Linked DNA regions of Homo sapiens: region 1 is linked to region 2. The links are contacts of gene promoters, found by promoter capture Hi-C in blood cells and fetal thymus (Javierre and others, 2016). All regions are on one chromosome and are shown on one strand. The core of a region is centred on a gene start or on the middle of the fragment in contact, and the rest is flanking DNA. Distances in the headings are between cores, read along the strand shown.

Region 1 (5,403 bases), core at 983-3,482, 1.2 Mb before region 2:
AAAATTAAAATCTTTGCCCCATATTAAAATCACCCTGAAAACTTAAAAAACAAACAAACAACAACAACAACAAACCTCAATGCCCAGACCAGATCCTGTCCTGTTCCAATTAAATCAGAGTCTCTAGAGGTGGGACCCAAGAATCAATATATATGTTTTGAACTCTCCAGGTGATTCCACAGGGCAGCAAAGTTTGAGAAGCAACACACAGGTCTCCTTTTTCGTCACGCAGTTGATCTAAGTGCTCTGTGGTCTATTCACCATCGCTCTCTGATTTAATCATCGTGTCCGAAACAATGGAAAGGCGTATGTAGCTGAAATAATTTAGTTGGAATTATCTCGGAAAAAATAAGTAAAGTTAGATCAGGAGTGAGATGCTTTCTCAGCGCTTTCCCTGGGTCAACAGGCGCGTGCAATTTCCTCAGCGAACGCCAAGGGGCACCCTCTCCCTCCCCGCTCTACCTGGAACGCCTTCGCCTTTCCAACCGCACAAAGAGCCCGGCCTCCTCCCGGGTGACATCACAAAGGGCCGGTCCCCCGCCCCTTCGGCGCCACCACGTGTGTCCCTGCGCCCGGTGGCCACCGACTCAGTCCCTCGCCGACCAGTCTGGGCAGCGGAGGAGGGTGGTTGGCAGTGGCTGGAAGCTTCGCTATGGGAAGTCGTTCCTTTGCTCTCTCGCGCCCAGTCCTCCTCCCTGGTTCTCCTCAGCCGCTGTCGGAGGAGAGCACCCGGAGACGCGGGCTGCAGTCGCGGCGGCTTCTCCCCGCCTGGGCGGCCGCGCCGCTGGGCAGGTGCTGAGCGCCCCTAGAGCCTCCCTTGCCGCCTCCCTCCTCTGCCCGGCCGCAGCAGTGCACATGGGGTGTTGGAGGTAGATGGGCTCCCGGCCCGGGAGGCGGCGGTGGATGCGGCGCTGGGCAGAAGCAGCCGCCGATTCCAGCTGCCCCGCGCGCCCCGGGCGCCCCTGCGAGTCCCCGGTTCAGCCATGGGGACCTCTCCGAGCAGCAGCACCGCCCTCGCCTCCTGCAGCCGCATCGCCCGCCGAGCCACAGCCACGATGATCGCGGGCTCCCTTCTCCTGGTGAGCGCTTGCGTGGACCGGGGGTGGCGGCGGCGCCGGAGCAGAAGGAACCGCTCTCCGGGAGCCGGGCGGGTCACCGGGCCGGGGCTTAGGGAGGCGCGGGGCCCGGCCGACTGGGTTACGGGCACTGAGGGGTTTCCAAGGGAAGGCAACACACCAGAGGGCCTCGACTAGGTTATTTGGGGGAATCTCAGGGCTCAGCCGGGGCTGGGGAATGAAGACGAATTGTTTTCCTTGCAGTCTGGCTTTGCTGGAGGAGACGCTAGAGGTAGCCGCCCAGCTTCTGCGCATTTGAGGGCTTTTCCCCCTACTCGGCCTACCTCGCGCTCCCCACGCCCGCAGCCACAGCCCCCCACCCATCGGCCACTGCCCCTCTGCGTGGTGTGGGGCCTCGCCGCGGTGTGGGGCTCCCACGGCCGGCCGAGGCCGGCGCTTTGTTGCAGCTGCAATGTCATGTCGGGATGCTACCGCAGTGGAAGACAGTGGTACCGGTGCGCGCCGGACACCGGAGACCTCCGGGTGCTGTCGCGCGGTGCATTCCCGAGCAGGGCGCAAGCCGCCCCCTCCTCAATCCCTTTACCCTCTCTCTTCCCTCTTGGCTCGGGTGGGGTCTCAGGTTCTGTATGCCGAAATATCACCCTTAGACCCACTCTCCGGCGCCTCCAAAGCGCCGGCTTCCAGCCAGCCAGCGCGCCGGCACTGGAATGGGGGGAGGGGGAAGGAGATGTGTGTGAAGGAAGATGAATTTTCTACAGTCTTTCCGATCCCTCGTTTACCTGTGGCTAGGCAGGTGACCCTGCAGGGTGGTGCAGTCTCCCTCATCGTCTAAGCTGCATCCACATCTCGGGTCAATCATCTTGACCAAAAACTTACCCTCAACTTCCCCCAAATTCCCTCCCTTTATTTCCAAATATTGGGGTGAAGGGGCAAGTTAGGTGGAAGAAAATTTGAGATCAAACCCTTGAGCTTCCCTTGCCTATCTTTTATCACTGCAGGAGGGATGGAAATTCTTAGCTAAAAACCGAACAAAAAAACCCCCAAGAAACAAGAGCTTGTTTTCACGACAGGGCTGTGTAAGGGAAAAGCAGGCTTGCTGTCTCCTTCCCCAAAAGGGCTTAACGCCTGGCCAGCCAAGAACTGCTTAGATCTCAGGACATTGCAGTTGCTATGGCCTGGGAATTCATCCTACAGACACTCTGGTTCCTTGTGTGTGTGTTTTAAGAGGAAGAGAGAGACTAAATAAAAGTTTGTTACTGTTAGCATTTATAATGAGGCAAGTCCCAGTCTCCCTTCAGAAACTCTTTTCTGCCCACTTATTAATGGCATGGCCAAGGTTTATATCTTTGAAACAAGTGAAACAAGTGTGGTGGATGGTAAGCAGTAGTCGGGGAGTCTCTTGGGACAATGAACCTGGATTGACAGTCTTGGTGTGGAGAGAAACACATCTAGGTCCATGGGAACACTGATCCTAGTTCAGTGGAGTGAGAACTATCATCATTTCCTTTTTCACAGCTTTAGATCCACTACTATCCACTACTATGTTTCAGGTGCTTCTAACACATCTGATTATTATATGCCTCACAGAGTCCATTCCCAGATTAAATCTTAAGTCATTGTGCAATACTCCATTTATTTTACCTTTTAGCATGAGGTAGGTAATTAAACAAAGGTCTTGATGTAATCAAATGGTAGGTTGCCTTAACTAACTGAGAAAGGGCCCAGCTCCTTTTCTTGAATCATCAGGCTAGGCACCCTGGCTTATGCCTGTAATCCCAGCGTTTTGGGCGGCCAGGGTGGGAGGATTGCTTGAGTCCAGGAGTTCGAGATTTGCCTGGGCAACATAGTGAGACCCCATCTCTACAAGAAATTAGGTGGGTGTGGCGGTGGTGTGCGCCTGTATGCCCAGCAACTCAGGAGGCTGAGGTGGGAGGATGGCTTGAGCCCAGGATGTTGAGGCTGCAGTGAGCTGTGACCATGCCACGGCACTCCAGCTTGAGTGACAGAGTGAGACCCTGTCTCCAAAACCAAAATAAAAAATAAGTCATCAAACTCAACCTACCCTAAAAATTGTGCACTGGATTTGCAACTAAAGACCTGACAATTTAAGTTTGGCTACTTTGAAAAAGATAAAATTTATAATGGGGCTTAGGAGCAGTCTCAAGTTGATAACCAATACAGGATTCCTTATTCTTCTGCTAGCTATGCTAAAAAGACTTCAGGTAAATTCATGAAATGGCATGAGGTTCAGCCCTTCATCCTGAAGGGTGACTGGAGGGTGTGCCAGGAATCAGTAGAGACTATGTTATAATCCCCATCCAGGGTGGGGAGGAAATGCCTTTTGTCTTTCACATTCTTATTCTGCATGCCCAAGTCCACAGCACAGGCTTTGTTAATGTATAAAATGATGATCTCATGATACTGTTCCAAGAAGTATTTATCCCATTGGGATCCTTGGCCATGTGAACATAACGGACATCAGGTACTGGAGCCTGGGTACACGTGGCAGGGTACTCAGAACACTACTGGGGGAGGTGGGCAAGTTAGTGGCCTGCCCACGTATTACAGTTAGATTAAAAAGTAATAATCCCAGTAAAATGTTCTATTTATTATGTCTTTTAATGCTCTTCTTTCAAATATCTCCCTTTTTGTGTGATAATATTTATTGTCATCATTTTTGTGTTATGACTTTTTGTTTGTCATGACCGGCTAACTGCATGAAAAATAGCTTACTATAAGCTTATAAAAATACAAATATATAGGTACACAATATGATATAATATATACACATGTATATAGCAATTGTATATGTATAGAGAGAGCAATTGCTACATGCCAGGTGCTTTGTATACAGTATCTCATTTATTCATAGCATCTTTGTGAAGCAGGTGATATTGTCTCCTTTTTATAGTTGAGAAAATGGAAGCTCCCAGAACTTCATTGGTTTGTCCCAGGCCACACAGCTTGCACGTGATATTGCTGGGGCCAGAACCCAGGACTGCCTGGCTCTTCAGCTCATGTCCTCCCTTAGCCCTGTGCCACACTGCGTGTTTCACAAGTCCAAATTGCTTGATAATGAAATGTAACAACAGAGAAGGCTCACTGGGGAAAAGTTAAGAAGGTGGTTTGGTTTGTTACAGAACGTGAATGAGAATTACAGGAATGCCTTTGGAAGGAAGTATTCTTGCTGCTTGCACTTCTATTTCTGATGAGTGTCTGCATGATAATAGAAAGTAAAACATACACTGAAAGACAAGAGCTGGGTTCAAAAGTCTGGGGCTCAGGTGGACAAAACATTCTTGTTGCTCGACACCCAGTAAGTCTAGTGTGCATGATTGTGCTTTGTCTTCAGAATCTAAGCTTACCTTCCACCATCTTGACTTTACCAATTGTACTATTCTGCCTGAGACACTTACCCTTGCTATATCATATCTCTGTAAGGCAGAGACAAGATCCATGAGAGCTTTAGGTTTGTGCCAGTGATAAGGAATGCTCTAGAATGGCTTGCCCAGAGTGACACTACTTAGTCAGAGATGCCCCTTGCCCTCGGGGAGCTCGCTTTAACTGCATAGGTAGGATTTTGGCAGTGAGGCCCTCAGAAGAGAAGGGAGCCATAATTGGTAAAGATATGAGGTCTGAAGTTTTAGAAAACTCTTTTGCAAGCATTATGAATTCCAGATAGAGGGCTATTTGCTGTTATAGCCTGTCCAGCTGTGCGTTTGCCTAGAAAGTGCCAAGTAATAGTGTTTTTCTCTGTTACTGAAACTAGACATGTAGCTTAGTGCTACCTCCTGACCATCATTTATCAAAGTACATTACCTCGTACATTGGCAATTCACTTTGGCTGTTTGGGCAGGTGTGGAGTGGTCTGGTGGGGGCTGAAGTTCTGAATCATGTCAAGACTTGGTGGCAAATTCGAGCAGAACTTTAAATTAGAGCTGATATTATATCCAAAAGATTTTCTCTCTCCTATATATCTTAGCTCTACAATCCTAGAATGTGAAAGCTGGAAGGGAGCATAAAAAATACTGATTTAACACCCTGTATTTTTTGGTTGAGAGAAAAAAAAATACTCTACTGGGGAAGTGACTGCTTTTTCATGTTTACAAATGAAACTGCATCGAGCACCCTTTCTAAGTGAGGCACTATTCTGGGCAGTGGGAACCCAGGGATGAATTGGGATTTGGATCTTGCCATGAAGGTACAATTCGTATGGTATATAAAATGAGCATGGCCATCACCAGTGCTGGTTGGGTTTTACTCGCTCATGTGGAATCACTGGATGAATGTAGTATACTTACCTTAATACACAAAATATGATTGATGT
Region 2 (5,888 bases), core at 3,013-5,512:
GGCTTCTGTTTCCTTGTGTGTAAAATGAGGATGTGTAAAGGTTACAGAATAGGCCCTCAAAATTAGTTTCCCTTTATCATTCTAGTTACAAAGATGTTGGGAAAAAAAACAAGACTGTACTATGATAGGCAGAATATTATTGTGAAACTATAAAATACATTAGGAATAATTTAGTCTCATCTCTTCGCATATGATGACCTTGCATATGACTTTGCTTATGATGAAGCTAAAGTCCAGTGATTAGCCGGGCTCAGAAAGCAATCAGTTGCTTCACTGTGTTCTTACTAATTTCATGTCCTCAATAAGTTTACAAGTCCAGTAATAGCAAGTTAACAAGTCTGATAATAATCTCCAAACTATTAACAGAACTCTTCCTGATAGAACACCTTTTATTAGCAGTGCCGGATCCATGTCTGCCACATTCTGTCTCATTCTAATAGGGAGTGTTAAGCTACAGACAAACCAACAATGAGAAGTTCTCAAGCAGTTTCCAAGGAATGAAAATAAAGTTTGCAGGGAATGAAACTGTTACAGTATAAAACATTGAGAGAAATTCTGTAATTTTTCACACCAAAAAGATGTCAAAGAGAAGAAAAAAAGCAGACCTCTCTGGACTGCAACCAAATATCCCTACAACAAATGGAAGTATGAGTTAGTCTTCAATTCAGGGGACAAACTACCTTCTAATTTCTCTGGGAAGACGTTCTTCCCTGGATGGAATGCAGTCAACTCTCACTGGCATTCCTAGCCCATGTGAAGCCAAGAGAGTATAAACCATTACAGGATATGGTGAAAGATATTTGTCACTATTAGCACGCCATCTGCTCTGTAATACAATGAAACTCTCATACACCTTTAAAAACTTTATTCTATGACTATAAATAAGGCAGTTATCTTTAGATTATTATCAGTTGCTTTCTTATAGTCTAAGGAAAAAAATATACTCCTTAAAAATTCCTTAGTCTTAAAAATCGTAGGATTCTAAATTATTCTCCAATTTTGTAAAATACACAGAAATTTCTAGCATACACAAAGTTTTCTAGCAGCTTCAAAACACTTACACTTATCTTACTTTCTACATAGTAAAATACCTCCCTCCATTACTCCTTGTCCTTTCATCAAAATTTCTTCCAAATTAAGTCAAATTGTCCCTGTTTGCAGACGACATGATTGTATATCTAGAAAACCCCATTGTCTCAGCCCAGAATCTCCTTAAGCTGATAAGCAACTTCAGCAAAGTCTCAGGATACAAAATCAATGTGCAAAAATCACAAGCATTCTTATACATCAACAACAGACAAACAGCCAAATCATGAGTGAACTCCCATTCACAATTGCTTCAAAGAGAATAAAATACCTAGGAATCCAACTTACAAGGGATGTGAAGGACCTCTTCAAGGAGAACTACAAACCACTGCTCAAGGAAATAAAAGAGGATACAAACAAATGGAAGAACATTCCATGCTCATGGGTAGGAAGAATCAATATCGTGAAAATGGCCATAATGCCCAAGGTATTTATAGATTCAATGCCATCCCCATCAAGCTACCAATGACTTTCTTCACAGAATTGGAAAAAACTACTTTAAAGTTCATATGGAACCAAAAAAGAGCCCGCATCGCCAAGTCAATCCTTAGCCAAAAGAACAAAGCTGGAGGCATCACACTACCTGACTTCAAACGATACTACAAGTCCACAGTAACCAAAACAGCATGGTACTGGTACCAAAACAGAGATATAGATCAATGGAACAGAACAGAGCCCTCAGAAATAACGCCGCATATCTACAACTATCTAATCTTTGATAAACCTGAGAAAAACAAGCAATGGGGAAAGTATTCCCTATTTCATAAATGGTGCTGGGAAAACTGGCTAGCCATATGTAGAAAGCTGAAACTGGATCCCTTCCTTACACCTTATACAACAATCAATTCAAGATGGATTAAAGACTTAAACGTTAGACCTAAAACCATAAAAACCCTAGAAGAAAACCTAGGCATTACCATTCAGGACATAGGCATGGGCAAGGACTTCATGTCTAAAACACCAAAAGCAACGGCAACAAAAGCCAAAATTGACAAATGGGATCTAATTAAACTAAAGAGCTTCTGCACAGCAAAAGAAACTACCATCAGAGTGAACAGGCAACCTACAAAATGGGAGAAAATTTTCACAATCTACTCATCTGAAAAAGGGCTAATATCCAGAATCTACAATGAATTCAAACAAATTTACAAGAAAAAAACAACCCCATCAAAAAGTGGGCGAAGGACATGAACAGACACTTCTCAAAAGAAGACATTTATGCAGCCAAAAAACACATGAAAAAATGCTCACCATCACTGGCCATCAGAGAAGTGCAAATCAAAACCACAATGAGATATCATCTCACACCAGTTAGAATGGCAATCATTAAAAAGTCAGGACACAACAGGTGCTGGAGAGGATGTGGAGAAATAGGAACACTTTTACACTGTTGGTGGGACTGTAAACTAGTTCAACCATTGTGGAAGTCAGTGTGGCGATTCCTCAGGGATCTAGAACTAGAAATACCATTTGACCCAGCCATCCCATTACTGGGTATATACCCAAAGGACTATAAATCATGCTGCTATAAAGACACATGCACACATATGTTCATTGCAGCATTATTCACAATAGCAAAGACTTGGAACCAAGCCAAATGTCCAACAATGATAGACTGGATTAAGAAAATGTGGCACATATACACCATGGAATACTATGCAGCCATAAAAAATGATGAGTTCATGTCCTTTGTAGGGACATGGATGAAATTGGAAATCCATTCTCAGTAAACTATCGCAAGAACAAAAAACCAAACACTGCATATTCTCACTCATAGGTGGGAATTGAACAATGAGAACACATGGACACAGGAAGGGGAACATCACACTCTGGGGACTGTTGTGGGGTGGGGGGAAGGGGGAGGGATGGCATTGGGAGATATACCTAATGCTAGATGATGGGTTAGTGGGTGCAGCGCACCAGCATGGCACATATATACATATGTAACTAACCTGCACATTGTGCACATGTACCCTAAAACTTAAGGTATAATAATAATAATTAATAAATAAATAAATCTAAGACCTGAGACCATAAAAAAAAATGTCTTCCAAATTATATCCTGTAACTAATTTAAGTGGAGGTGGGGGGAAGACGCACAAGTGCAGCAGGCCTCTTAATTTCCTTAAAACAGATTGAAACAATCTCTGAGGGGAAAAAAGAAGAAATAGAAGCTCATAATACTGAAACCAGCAGTTGATATTTCACAGTAGTTGGCAAATCTTCCTTCAGACTTGGGTCCACAAGATTGCCTGATTAAGCAAAGCCCTTCTGGAGTCAGATCTGGTGTAAACCTGAATCTGCCTGTCACTAGTTGTACAATCTTGGTTGGACGCGTCCCTTCACTTCTCTGAGCCTGACTTTCGTCATCTGTAAAATGGGAATGCTATGATCTCATAGGGTGGTTGTGACAAGAAAAGGAAGCATTGTTTTTAAGTCCTTACGTGCTTTTAATCCAGCCCTTTAAAAAGGCACTTAAATGTACCTTTTATTGTTTGGTTGGCTTGTTTTCCAGGAAATTAGTTCTTAAATATCATTATCTATAATTAACATAAACTCTAATCTAATATTCAGACAGACGGATGTCGATGCCATGGGTGGTTCTCCTTTAAAACCAAAAGCCTGGCGACCCCGCCCCAGCTCCCCTCAATTTTACCCCAGACCCACCTTAGGTTCCTCCACTACCGTTCGGCTGACTTCCCTCCCTTCACACTTAACACCACAGGTTGCCTTCCCCAGCACCTGCTAATTTTTCTTTCCTCTTCCCTTCCTGGCCTCCGCCTCGGCCCGCCACCTCCCTGGCTCTTTGAGTCCCTTCGTGGACGTCCCCGCCGCGCCCCAGGGGATGTGCGTGTAGTGGGGGAGAGTGGGTCATAGGGTCTGGTCTCACCATCTCTATTTTCAAAGCCCCTAGGGGACTGGAGAGGGGGTGACATTGCCCCCCAGAACGCCGAGCGCGCGAGGCGCGTACTCACCAGCCGCCGCGGTCGCTTCTTTCCAATGCGCGGAACTCGGCGCTCGCGGCACCTGGCACTCGTGGGAAGTTGCGGGGAAGGGGGACCTGGAGGAAGAGGGGCGATGCCGAGCTCTTCCTGAGGCGCCTGCGCAGTGGCAGGCGCCGCGCCGCGGGGCACAGCCCCAACGTCCCTATCTGCGCCGCTCGGGGCGCTCCGAGTGTGCGCAGCTGCCAGGCGAGCGTCTAAGGCGCCAGCTCAGGGCTGGCTGGGACCGGGCAGCAGAGTCTGAAACACGTCCTTGGATTGGATGCTAGAACCAGCGTTGAATGTAACTTTCTTTCCGATTGGTTAGACAGGTGCTTGGAGGGGTTGTATCGGACCTAAGAGTAGAGGTTGATTCCACTCTCCCACCACGCACTTTTCGTATCATCCTAGATCTGGATGCCCTTCATGGAACCTAAAAACCAGCGAGTCCCGGAAAGGCCTCAGGCAATTGCCAAGCCGATGGCCTTCTGCCACTTAGTTAATGTGCACCTGGCAGCTTAGGTGGCCGCGGAGAAAGCAACTTTGGCTGCACCAAGGTCCGGCACAAGTCTGGAGAAGCTTCAGCCAGTTCCAGTGAGTTGGGATAAATGAAACGTGGATCTACCATAGACGTCTGTCCGTCTTACTGGATAAGCGAGCACCTTTACCGGGGAAGTTAGGTAATAGTTTACAAGTAAGGTTAAAAGCAGCACAGTGCCTGCGGCAGGGAACCAGTAATGAGTTACAGCTGAGAAATGGGTGCTTACTTTGACAGACGCGTATGTGGGATTGTGCTCCTGCTTTTAATTGGAAGGTTATTTAATAGAATAATGTAACTAAACTTTCCAACATAAAGAGCAGTTACCAAACAGAAGTAGAATTATTCGCTAACAGTTGGGTTGTCCAGGCACACTTGGCAGTGAGAGGATAGCATCTTTTTTCTTTTTATCTGTAGTGCCAAACAGAACTTGGTATAGAAGTACTTGCTAAATCACTATTGAATTTAATTGTCCCGCTTGTTAAAATGCAGGCTCCAGAAGGTATTTTCTTTCTTGTTCACTACTGTATCTCCAGCTCAAATAAAAAGTACAAATAAATTAAGAATATTAATCACATGTGATATCCTCAAGTGTTAAGTATTTAATAGCTGTAAATCCAGTACCTGGATTAGTAAACTGCAGTACTGGACCTTAGATAACAAATTCTGACGTTGGTCCCCTTGGTCTGAACCTTACAGTATAGCTATTACCAACAATCTGGAAGCAGCCATGGAGATGATTTGGCAATAGATGTATTCCGTTGATTATTAGTTTGTGCCTTGATAAATTAATTCCAGTTTTAAGTCTCAGGTTGGCCTGTGCATTGGTGAATATGGGCATCTTAGATCCATGGGCTTTCAGAGCTGGAGGGGATGGTAGTGGGTCTGTAGCTGAATCCCTAGAACCTGCAGACCCTAGAACCTGGTTTGAATACTCACTCTGTCACTCACCAGCAGAGCAATCATGGGCCAGTGTCTCAACCTATTTGAGCTTTCATTTCCTCATCTGCAAAACGCGTCTTGTTACAATACCAACCTCTTACTATCAAATGAATGAGGAAAGCGAGTAGAGTATTCAGCACAGTATCTGACACATGTTGTTTTGGGGATTATTATCATTATGACCAAAAAAGTACCCCAATTTGAACAATAGTCAGGGTAAGGCCAAGTTTTGGGGGAATTTAGGTAATGTCCAATGACATAACATTTAAGATTAGCAGAACTTAAATTTTGTGGCATTTGGGGGTATTGTGCATATCCTGTTTGTTCATTCAGTAGGTGCA

Evidence for each region. The method cuts DNA at HindIII sites, captures the fragments that hold promoters and counts their contacts. A CHiCAGO score of 5 or more calls a contact.
Region 1: a contact is called between a fragment that was not itself captured here and the fragment with the promoter of ENPP4 in region 2, in 1 of 17 cell types (fetal thymus). The highest score is 5.7, in fetal thymus.

The regions. Positions count from the first base shown.
Region 1 is chr6:47,305,092-47,310,494 of GRCh38, reverse strand. It overlaps TNFRSF21 (TNF receptor superfamily member 21), which reads left to right and starts at 590. Exons shown (of 6, transcript NM_014452.5): 1 at 590-1,079. The coding sequence starts at 984. RefSeq lists enhancers at 328-622, 574-753, 917-1,639 and a silencer at 894-1,123. The HindIII fragment of the contact is 3,170 bases long and covers 648-3,817 here.
Region 2 is chr6:46,128,363-46,134,250 of GRCh38, reverse strand. ENPP4 (ectonucleotide pyrophosphatase/phosphodiesterase 4) reads right to left here and starts at 4,262. Exons shown (of 4, transcript NM_014936.5): 1 at 4,062-4,262. It also overlaps a transcript of CLIC5 not described here. The HindIII fragment of the contact is 7,807 bases long and covers 1-4,648 here.